2 separate regions of the Homo sapiens genome follow, and region 1 is linked to region 2. The links are contacts of gene promoters, found by promoter capture Hi-C in blood cells and fetal thymus (Javierre and others, 2016). All regions are on one chromosome and are shown on one strand. Each heading gives the region's core, a stretch centred on a gene start or on the middle of the fragment in contact. The rest is flanking DNA. Distances are from core to core; before and after follow the strand shown. Region 1 overlaps SORL1 (sortilin related receptor 1). Region 2 holds the start of SC5D (sterol-C5-desaturase).

Region 1 (5,582 bases), core at 2,518-5,017, 270 kb after region 2:
TATTGTTTTATGGTTCTTGGCTGACCCTATACTAGGAGAAAATTGACAGGGGAAATAATACTGTTATAGATATCATTGTTATCCTCTTGGGATTGTGAAGATAGCATGAGAACACCCTGGGAAAACTATAAAGTGTCTTACAAATGTAAGACGATATTATTTGTTATGTCTTCACCACTGACCTGTGAGGTAGGGAAGGCTGGTATTATGATCCATGGTTTATAGATTAGGGAATTAAATCTCAGATATGAATTAGCTTTCCCAAAATATCCTCACTAGTTTAGGGGCTGGCCTTTTGTTGCAATTCTGCCGCTAAATGGAGAAGTCACATTCTTTCTTAGAGGAGGCACCTGTTTTAGAATCAGGAGAGTTGAAGGAATCTTGCTTCTCAGCTCCAGTGACTGAAATCTTCAGACCTTTGTTTAATGGAGGACATCCACCCCTACTGATCTGACTTGCTAGCTAGCAGAGTGGATTTTTAGTATTTCTCCAAGTGGATTTTTAGCATTTCTCCATGTTACCACTTAGTCCAGAAGAGTGGGTCTTCATTTTTACAAGTGCTTGTATGCATGTGCTTGTTTGATTTGCACACAGGAGCTTCTGAAACACTGTGTGCAGATGAAGCCAGTGGCTACCCGGTCACAACTTACTTCCCAGTCTTGACTGTCCACTTCATCCCAAGAACTTGGGCACAGCTGACATGCAGTCACACCTGTGACTGAGGAGCAGTGCGGGAGGAGAGAGTTTGTGGTCTCAGCACATGCAAACGTGGTGTCTTGGTGCCAGTCAGACAGGTCTGCAATCCTCACCTTAGGTGTAGTTTCCCTTTCATGCCTCAAAGAGTCATCTTCATTTAAGTTAGCCAGAGTCATTTTGGGGCCCAGAGTGAGGTCTGGATAGATGACAGGCTGGTTTAAAAGGGAGATATGTATTAGCAGGGCATAGTGGCACATGCCTGTAGTCTCAGCTCCTCAGGAGGCGGAGGTGGGAGCATCACCTGAGCTCGGGAGGTTGAGGCTGCAGTTAGCCAAGGTCGTGCTGCTGCACTCCATCCTGGGTGACAGAGTGAGACCCTGTCACCGAAAAAAAAAAAAAAAAAGGCTGGGGGAGATCTGTGTTGGTGAGTAGAACACAGACCTGGACCTGTGCATGGGCGGCTGTGACTGTCCCTTTGGCCATGGCCAGTTGTCGCCTCTCTGCTCCTTTCTGTTTGCCTTTGGGATTTTCTCTTGCTGTCCTTTGGTTGTGAGCAGGATACTTCCAGGAGACCTACTGCCTCCAAACACAGGGCTGGAGAAAGACGTTTTTGTCTTTCTCTGCAGCCCAGTTTGGGTCAAATCAAAGCTTTTGCAGTGGTGTCTGGCTGTCAGCACTGTCTATGAGCACTCCGCACCTCTTGGCCTTGAACTTGTTTGCTCTAACCTGCTTGCTTTTTTTGGACACTGATAGGACACTTGCTTTTTTGGACATTGTATTACAGATCCACGGTGTGTGTTGGATCTAGCACTTGGAGAAATGCTAAAAATCCACTCTGCTAGCTAGCAAGTCAGATCAGTAGGGGTGGATGTCCTCCATCAAGCAAGGGCCTGAATATTTCAGTCACTGGAGCTGAGAAGCAAGATTCCTTCAACTCTCCTTATTTTAAAACAGGTGACTCCTCTAAGAAAGAATGTGACTCCTGTCCATCTTTATTATTTTTGTTGTCTCCTCCTAACACATTCGGGACTTTCTACAGTAGTCTCCTGCTTATTTGCCATTTTGCTTTCTGTGATTTCAGCTACCTGCGGTCAACCACTGTCCAAAAATATATATGGAAGATTCCAGAAATAAACAATGTATAAGATTTAAATTGCTTGCTGTTCTGAATAGTGTGATGAAATCTTGTACTGTCTCCTCCCTGTCCCACCTGGGATGTGAATCCTCCCTTTGTCCAGCGTCTCATGCTGTTGATGCTGCCGGCTCATTAGTCCCTTTAGGAGCCGGCTGGGTTATCAGGGTGTCAAAGTACTGCAGTTCTTGTACGCAAGGAACCCTTATTTTACTTCATGATGACCCTACACCTCAAGAGTAGTGATTCCAGTAATTTGGATATGCCAAAGGGAGGTTGTAAAGTGCTTCCTTTAGGGAAAGGGTGAAAGTTCTAGACTTAATAAGGGAGGAAAAAAAATCTTACACCGAGTTTGCTAAGATCTGCTGTAAGAACGAACCTTCTATCTCTGAAATTGTAAAGAAAGAAAAAGAAATTCATGCACAGTATAGGTTTGGTCCTATCTGCAGTTTCAGGTGTCAGCTAGGGGTCTTGGAATTGGGGGTTTTGGAATAAGAGGGGACTACTATATTAACCAAGTGTTAAATAATAATAATTGATAGTAACTACATGTATTGAGGGGTTGCTGTGTTATAAGTACCACAGTAATGTGCTTTGTGGGCTTGTATAACCTCACTTCGTCTTCCCAAAGACTTCTATATGTACTATCAATATTTCCATTTTATAGGTGAGAATATGAAAGTCTGGTTTAGTAACTTGTGTAGGTCACACTTTTAGTAAGTGGTAAGAATTTGCACTGTGGCCCGTTGACTTCAAAGCCTGAACTTCGATAAAACCACCCGGCTCTGCTCCCTCTGTCATGTGTTGCTAGAATAGCAGTGCCCTGGTAGTATGACAGCAGTTCAGAAGTACTGTTCTAGATTTTGATTGATGATGGTTCATAATAAAAATGTTGTTCAGTTGCAACATTTATCAATTTGAAATATTTGGTCCTTTATAGCTAGCTGGTTTTTATTTTTTATTTGTTTAGTTTTTTGGAGACAGAGTCTCGTTCTGTTACCCCGGCTGGAGTGCAGTGATGTGATCTTGGCTCACTGCAACCTCTGCCTCCTGGGTTCAAGCAATTCTCATGCCTCAGCCTCCTAAGTAGCTGGGACTAAAGGCATGTGCCACCATGCCTGGCTAATTTTTTGTATTTTAGTAGAGATTGGGTTTCACCATGTTGCCCAGGCTGGTCTTGAACTCCTGAGCTCAGGCAATCTGCACGCCCCGGCCTCCCAAAGTGCTAGGATTTACAGGTGTGAGCCACTGTGTCTGGCCACTAGCTGGTTTTTAAATGGTATAACTGGAATTTATTCTTTGTAAAGTGTGTTTTTTCTTTAAAGAGGTTACTTTACAAGATTGTTGATGTATTCAGTTGCTCCTGCGATGGCTCTTGGAGCTTTGGAATTCTTTTGCAGTTTTGGAATTCTCCTTTAGAGCCTGCAGTAAGTATGTGCTTTTAAGTATCTATAATGAGGGCACATATTTATTATTTGAGGTAGATTTGATTTTGATAATTGCCAAGTGTATAGATACTTGAGATGATGACATTTTTGGCTCCTAAAGTATTCCTGGAGGAATTTTCCAAACAGGAAATGTGAAAATGTTCTGAACATGCCCAGTGAAGACATCACGGGGCTATGTGTTTGATCTTCTAAGGGAATGTCTTTGAAGATGATTGTCCACTCTTCACATTGAGATAACGGTTTTCATATTGCCTGGTCCACTCAAGACAATTGTCATCCTGTATAAAGGGTCTGTGGCTGTGGTAGAACTGCCATCATAGGAGTTGGTGAATTACCCTTCCATCTTCTTCCAGCTTCTCTCTGATGCAGCTCTCCCATTTTCCATTCTCTGGCTTCAGACTAGCCTAGACATTCCTGCCCCTGCCTACCTCTTAGGATCAGTGACTTGGTTAGCTTGTTTTGCAGTTTGCCCCTGGTTACTGCCTCAGAGTACAGTTTCATACATTTCTGCCTAGATCAGCCTCCTGAAATATGATACCCCATTTTGAGTTCTCTACTCTTAGCTCTTCTTGCTTGTTTGGATAGGAATATTTGCTCTGCATATGAAAAGGTTAGTGAAATGATTTTACAGACATGATCCCTGTGAAAAAAATCATCCTGTAATAGAGTAGTTTTTTTTATTTGTTCGTTTTGTTTGTTTGTTTGTTTTTGAGACAGGCTCTGGCTCTGTTACCCAGGCTGGAGTGCAGTGGCGCCATCTCAGCTAACTGCAGCCTCTGTCTCCTGGGCTTAAGCAATCTTCCCACTTCAGCCTCTGAAGTGGCTGGGATCACAGATGTGTACCCGGCTAATTTTGCTTATTTTTTTTTTGTGGAGGCGGTCTTCACTATGTTGCTCAGGGTGGTCTCGAACTCCTGGGCTCGAGTGATCCTCCCACCTCGGCCTCCCAAACTGCTGGGATTACAGATGTGAGCCACTGCACCCAGCCGGTAATAGAGTATTTTAAAATAACATCATATTCCATTATTGTTCAGGATCTTGGAACATTGAGTGATATATTGTTCTTTGAATACAAAACACATGTTCCCACATCCTTGTTTGAGTTGTTTCTCATGAGTGGTGGCTCTATGTCAATTCTGCATTCCCTCTTGTAGCCAGTGGCCTGTACCTTTGAACTAAAGGAGCCATCTGTGCCCACTAATGGATCAGAGTGAAGGGATGTCTGGGACTTCTGCTCTAGTCAGCTGGTTAGTCTGCTATGGTAATTAAGCTGTTATGATTGATTATTTACTGAACCTTTTGGACTGTTTCATCATGTGGACTTCCCTTCCTCTGGAGGTGTATGTTTTCTCTCTATTTACTGAATCTTTTGGAATGTTTCATCATATGAACCTCCCTTCCTCTGGATGTGTGTGTTTTCTCTTTGGTAATACCTCTTACTCTTTTCCTTGGCATCATAATAACGTTGTTGCCATAGCATTGTGATTTTTATTTTTATTTGTAATGTAAATTAACCAATGATGTGCCCACACACCCAAAGCTACTGCGTATATTATCCATATCGACACTGATTATCATTCATGAACTTCGTCTAACCTGTAGGCCAGGATAGGCATGGCTTAGATGAATGCTTGGCTGGGTGGCAACAGATGATTTGGATATGGTGCTGAAGTGTGGGAGGGCATCTCTGTCCATGACATAGCACGAATGAAGAATTAGCAATTGAGTTTTATCTAAGTTTTTATGTTCATTTTTCCCATTTTCATGATTAATAATTGCAGTCAAAAGAAAAAACATGATTTCATAGTTTCTGTGACCCCATAGTTGTATCATGTTTCAGATTGTTATAAAATGGTTTATGCATCTTCTTACCTGCCATCCCCGGAACGATGTAGGGGATAGGATGGCACTTTTGCCATCCTCGTTCATCCACAAAGGCTCCTTCTCAAGAGTGCAGTGGTGGATTTTACGAACTCTCTCCGGTGCTGCCTTTAGTAAGCTGAACCAGAGAAAAGATTGGCAGGAGTGGGCTAGATCAGCATGAACTAGTCCTTACCTGAACACATTGCACAGCAGTGGCTGATGAGTACTGTGGTTGGCTCCTCCTTTAGCTCTTGAGGGGCACTCTGGCACAAAGGAATTGAGAAGGGGAGGCCTGGATTTTTGTCCTGGGCCCACCATTAACCAGGTGTATGTTCTAATTAAGGCCTTTGGGGCCCTAAGGAGCAGAAACCCACTCAAGCTAGCTCAAGTGAATGGTTTTATGGAATGAATAAAGGAGCCCAAAGATGAAAGTCTAGGAGAGC
Region 2 (5,872 bases), core at 1,418-3,917:
TCTTTGTAGTTTCCTTTGTAGTACCTTTGTAAAGACAAAGGTCTTTAAACAGTTTAGTGCTTAGTGTTCTCATTAAAGTATAATGTTATATAATGAACGTGGGCTGATAAATTATTGATGCATTGAAAGGCAACATTTCATTGAAAAAAATTCAAACTCAATCTCAGTTTAGAATCTTCCAAGTGAATGAGGACTTCTAACTCTGTTCAGGTCAAATGTAGCCCTCTCAGAGAAACTGACTGACCATGCTGTCTGAAGTTAACAGCTTCCGTTAATTTTGATTCTCTTACCCCATTTTCTTTTTCTTCATAGCACTGTCCGACATTGTATTATATATCTATTTATTTATTATCAGTTTTCTGTCTCCTTACTAGTGTGTAAGCTTCATTAGAGCAGACTTTGTTTTGATTATCAGTATATCTCCTGTGCATATGACAGTGCCTGACACTTATCACCATTACATAATGATTTATTGAGTAAATAAATTGAGTAATTTAATGATTAAATGGTTTGTTTCCATGTTCATGTTCCATCCAGACACATAGGCAGGTATTGTGGCTTATCTCTGAATTCCTTGGTACTGGCTGGTTGGTACCATAGACCCTTGCAAACAATGAATAAATAAATTACCCTGATCCATCAGTGTGCCTGGATAGAAAAGACATGTAGGAATGCTGCACCCCAGGATGTGCTATTAATACACTTATACACCACGGAATACTATGCAGCCATAAAAAAAAGAATGAGTTCATGTCTTTTGCAGGGACATGGATGAAGCCGGAAGCCATCATTCTCAGCAAAATAACACAGAACAAAAAACCAAACACCACATATTCTCATTGAGTATGTGGGAGTTGTTCAACTGTGGGAGTTGAACAATGAGAACACATGGACACAGGGAGGGAAACATCACACACCGGGGCCTGTCAGGGGGTGGAGGGCAAGGGGAGGGAGAACATTAGGACAAATAACTAATGCATGCAGGGCTTAAAACCTAGATGACGGGTTGGAAGGTGCAGCAAGCCACCATGGCACATGTATACCTATGTAACAAACCTGCACGTTCTGCACATGTATCCCAGAACTTAAATAATAATTAAAAAATACACTTAAATTTATTTTTAAACAAGATTGTTCTCTTGAGGTTAACTTATTACTACTTTGAGTTGTCAGGAGTGATTGCAAATTTCTTGGGAATCCCTAAGTCACCAAGAATAAAGACCACTTGTAATAGCTAAGGCATATTCAACAATAAAATTCTAGAGATTCAGGATATTTGATGTTTGCTTATAACATTTCACTTTTGAGCTTTTATTCGTTTAATAAATGTTTTATCATCTATGCTCAATAACATTTTAAAGTGTCCATTCAAATCATTTCATTGGGCAAAACAATGTTCCTTCCCTAATTTCCCTCATCAGAATAGCCATTTTGTCTCTGTGCTCAGCCTATACCACCAATTACTGTTTATTTCCTGTCCTTGTAATAAGCAACATAGTTATTTATACATGCCCATTTCTCCCACAGCACATAAGCTTTTTAAGGTTGGGAACCATGTCTTTGTCATTATTGTAACATCTCTTTCCATTCCCGGTGTTCAGTACGATGTGTTAAACGAAGTAGACACTCAAAACTTTTTAAAATTTATTTTTATTTATATAATGAGTCTTTTTTAAAAAAACCACCTACACTATTTTAAATTCATTTGAACTTTGTCCAGTATCCTATGTACATTTGAAGTTTAACTACCGGAAAAGTCTTTTGAAGGCAGATCGAATCATGTTATTTTTTTCCCTTAAAAATCCCTCATTTCTGTCATGTATTCCCCATATTATTTATGTAATAGGTAAAGTGGCCCAGTTTGCCACTTTGAAGTTGCTGAGCTGGTATCACAAGTCAGTCCCCTCTGTTTTAATCTCTGTTTAAGGAAAGTCACTCTGAAACGACAGATCTTTTGGTTCCTTATTTCTGCTTTCCTCCGTCCTCTTCTGCCTGTGAAGCCACCCTCCTCTGCTCAGCTCTGTTTCAGGAAATCGGAGCTGCTCGATTCATGTGTAGCAAATCAAAGCCAATTAGATCTGCGTTAACCTTGGTTTTCAACAACTTGTATCGTGAAAAGGTTTCTGTCCATGTTTACCCTCATCTTGTCACCATTTAGACCCCTACATACACCGGCTCGCGGAGCCTCCAGCCATTCAGCGCTAGAAAATCGGGGGGACTACGTCTTAAAACCTTGAGCACCTGTTTGGGAACATCTGCACCTCCTCCCTTGAGGGAGAAAACGACCCAGACATTCGCGTCAAAGGAAGTGTCGTCTATTTCCCTCAACGCAGGGCACCCGTTCTAGGAATGTTTGTATAAACACCGTAAACCTGCCTGGTACCACCATGAATGACACAAGAGCTAGTTTAAAAAGAAAGCAAAGAAACAAACGCAAAACCCGAAACCGCATCCTCCACCGCAAAGGTACTCGGATGGGGCGCCCGCCCTCCCCTTAGTCAGAGGACAAAGGGGGCGTGGCCGAGCGCGCGGCGCCCACGTGACCGCGGAGAGCTGCGCGCAGGCCCTTCGCGCGATCTGCCGTCATATCAGCTTATGGCGCCGGTCGCTGATTGGCTGGCCGCTCCAGCCTCCCGGCCCGCTTGCTGGCTGCCCAGCTGCTAGGACAGTTTGCAGAGCAGTGGCGTGCGGAGCGGCGGCGGACCACCTCCAGGTGGGGACGGTGGGTGGGCGGGGAAGGAAGCGGAATACACCTGAGCGGGCTGGGCCGGGGGGCGATGGAATAAAAGAAGATGGAGAGACTTCAGCGCCTGGGACTCGGGTGGGCGAGGCGGAAGGTGTCCTCGCAGCACGGCTTTTCTCCGCGCCGCGGTTGGTTAGCGAGTGCCCTCTGGGTGCTAGGCGTTGGGCGGATGGTAGGATCGCGGTAGCATACGGATCCGAGTCCTGCGCCGAGTGAGAGGAGAGGCTGGCAGGTAGCCTGGCATCCCGAAGACTGGCGGCGAGGGCTGGGCCGGGGGACCTCGGGGCCTGGAGGGCTGCGCCACCTGGGAGTCCGGGCGGAGGGGCCTTCCGCTCGCGCTGGGAGGGATCGCGGGGCCGATAGGGAGGCCTGGACTTGAAGGAGCCGACCGTGGACGGGCTTAAAGAAAATGCAGTGTTTGATGTTGGGTGTTGCAGATCTCTTACTCAAGGGAATTCTGGTCTGGCTGCTGAACACGAATGCTTTACTTTTCCCTTCGTTCTGGGAGGGTTTTTTTCTTTTAAAGGCCAGAAGAATCAGGCTGAAGAACTGGTCGGTATCAGAACTCCTGACCATTGCAAGCCTCTGTTGCTGCGGCGTAATTAGAATGAAGGGACAGCAATCTGGGGCTGAGGAGACTGAAAGGAAAAGGGAAATAATCTGTTCCTTTTGCATCATAAAAGGAAAAATAATGTATACTGACATCCCTGTGTTACAGCAGAGTAGATTTGGAGGTGGTGTAAGTGAAGAAAACAAGACCTCAGTACATAGAGTTTCCAAACTGGAAAGTTTGTGGCAGCTCGGTACTTTTAGAGGAAACCCTCTGGAAGTTATTTGTCTTTATATCACTATCATTTTTTAAAGTTTCTAATGATTGATACCTAGTAAATAATAACTGATCCTTGATCATTTACAGAGTGCTTTTCCATTCGTTATGTAATGTAATTAATTAGCATGGGGTGGTACTCAGAATCCCTCATCTGCATATAAAACATCTTGAGAGATAACATAACGTGGTAGCAAAGAGAAAGGTTGTGGAATGTACATCCCAGCTGGTTTTTTCTGTTATTGTTGCTTGCTACTGAACAAGTTATTTAAATACTCTGACCTCAGTTTCCCTATCTATAAAGTGGGGAGCATAGAAGTACCTATCTCATAGAGGTATAGGGATTAGATGAGGTTATACAAAAATAATACCTGGTTCTCAATAAATATTAGCTATCATTTTCTATACTTTTAAAGTAGGGCAAAAAGATAATGGTAGACTGAGTTGTTCTAAGCCTAATATTGTTATTATAACTGAGTTTTAAGAAGAAGTTTCTTTAATTCTGCAAGGACAAAGTATTTAAGTTTCTGTTTGAAGCAGTGGTACTTAATTTAGGGTCCTTGGGACCCCTAACTTCAGGGCTTATAACCCCTTAAAATTATATGAGCTTGTAGAGGCACTGAACATTTTTAAAAATTCAGGAGTTGACGACTTGAAGTAGTGGTGAAGAGGCTATAGAACTTGGCAGAAGTTCACGTACTTTGCAACTAGATTGTGTGTATTTGAATCCTAGCTCCAGCATTTATTTACTCTTATGACCCTATGCAAGTTACTTAAAATTTCTGTGCCCAGCTTCTTCATCTATAAAATAATACTAGTACCTACCTTTGAGGCTTCTTGAAAGGGAAAATTAGTTAATATATTTAAAATATTTATATTACCTAGTATATATTAAATATTACTATCAACTACTGTCAGTTATTTTTCAAACAAAAATCAAGTGGCACCTATTTTATCTTCTATTGAAGTAATTTTGACGCATTTTTGACGGCCTTAACAGTGATAATCATATAGATGCTATTTTATTGAGTACCTTTCTTGGGTCAAATGTCAAAAGTCTACTTAGTCTCTAAACCTCACAGCAATCAAACATGTTTGTGTTCTTTTTGGTTGCACGATACTATTCTAGGTATTGTATTGAAGTAGGGCCACATGGCACTGTGGGGAACATGTAGATTGGCTCATCAGCTGTTACCAACCTTTAGTGATATAGCAATATCCTTTTCAATTATTAAATGTTTATGTTATCTGATATTACGTAGTACCCTGTCCCTGCTACACCACCTCCCTTGGCAGTCTTCACCCCTATAACTTCAACTACTACCTGTATACTAACCAGGCTCGCTTTTGAACTTCACATTTATATTTACATGTGGCCTATTGCTTATATCTAAGATAGAAGATGAGCCACAGATAATTAGGTTTTAAGATCTACATTGAACCCGTTTTGAACCCCAGATATCTGAGACAGGTCTCAGTCAATTTAGGAAGTTTATTTTGCCAAGGTTAAGGATTCACCCGTGACACAGCCTCAGGAAGCCCTGACAATATGTGCCCAAGGTGGTCGGGGACACAGTTTGCTTTTATACATTTTAGGGAGACATGAGACATCAATCAATATGTGTAAGAAGTACATTGGTTGGGTCTGGTAAGGCGGGACAACTCACAGTGGGGGCTTCCAGGTTAGAAGCAGATAAGAGACAAAGGTTGCATTATTTTGAGTCCTTGATTAGCCTTCCACTGAATGCACACATTTCGTCTGGCTCAGTGAATCTGCATGTTTACATAAACAATAGGGCAGAGGAAGCAATCAGAAATCCATTTGTGTCAGGTGAGCCTCAGAGGGATGACTTTGAGTCCTGTCTGTCCTTTATCCACAAAGGAATTTTCTGAGGGCAAATTGTGAGGGAGGGATGTAGCTTCTCATCCTTGTAGCTGTCTTATTTAGGAATAAAGCGGGAGGCAGGTTTGCCTAACATAGTTCCCAGCCTGACTTTTCTCTTAGCTTAGTGATTTTGGAGTCCCAAGATTTATTTTCTGTTCACACCATCATTCCTTACCCACCCCCTATTCCTACCCTACCCAAATCTGCTAGCTCTGCCAGTATTCCCTATTTCAATTACAATGACATCACCATCTACTTAGACCAGCTAAAGTCTCACAGTCATCCTAGATTTCTCTCTCTTTCACTTCCCAGCAAACGTGGGTTATCCAAATCCTGTGGGTGTTTTTACTTGCGCGAAATCTCTGCTGGCTAGTCTTAACAGCCACTGCCCGAGGTCAGGCTATCATTTTCTCTGGGT

The links. The method cuts DNA at HindIII sites, captures the fragments that hold promoters and counts their contacts. A CHiCAGO score of 5 or more calls a contact.
Region 1: a contact is called between a fragment that was not itself captured here and the fragment with the promoter of SC5D in region 2, in 9 of 17 cell types (non-activated CD4 T cells, neutrophils, total CD8 T cells and 6 more). The highest score is 11.4, in non-activated CD4 T cells.

What each region holds. Positions count from the first base shown.
Region 1 is chr11:121,560,609-121,566,190 of GRCh38, forward strand. The region is part of intron 21 of SORL1 (sortilin related receptor 1); the gene reads left to right. Among named protein-coding and RNA genes, the nearest start is that of SORL1-AS1, 110 kb to the left of the region's middle. The HindIII fragment of the contact is 4,851 bases long and covers 1,343-5,582 here.
Region 2 is chr11:121,290,104-121,295,975 of GRCh38, forward strand. It overlaps SC5D (sterol-C5-desaturase), which reads left to right and starts at 2,668. Exons shown (of 5, transcript NM_006918.5): 1 at 2,668-2,713. RefSeq lists enhancers at 2,410-2,459, 5,173-5,714, 5,715-5,872 and a silencer at 2,630-2,679. The HindIII fragment of the contact is 7,130 bases long and covers 1,534-5,872 here.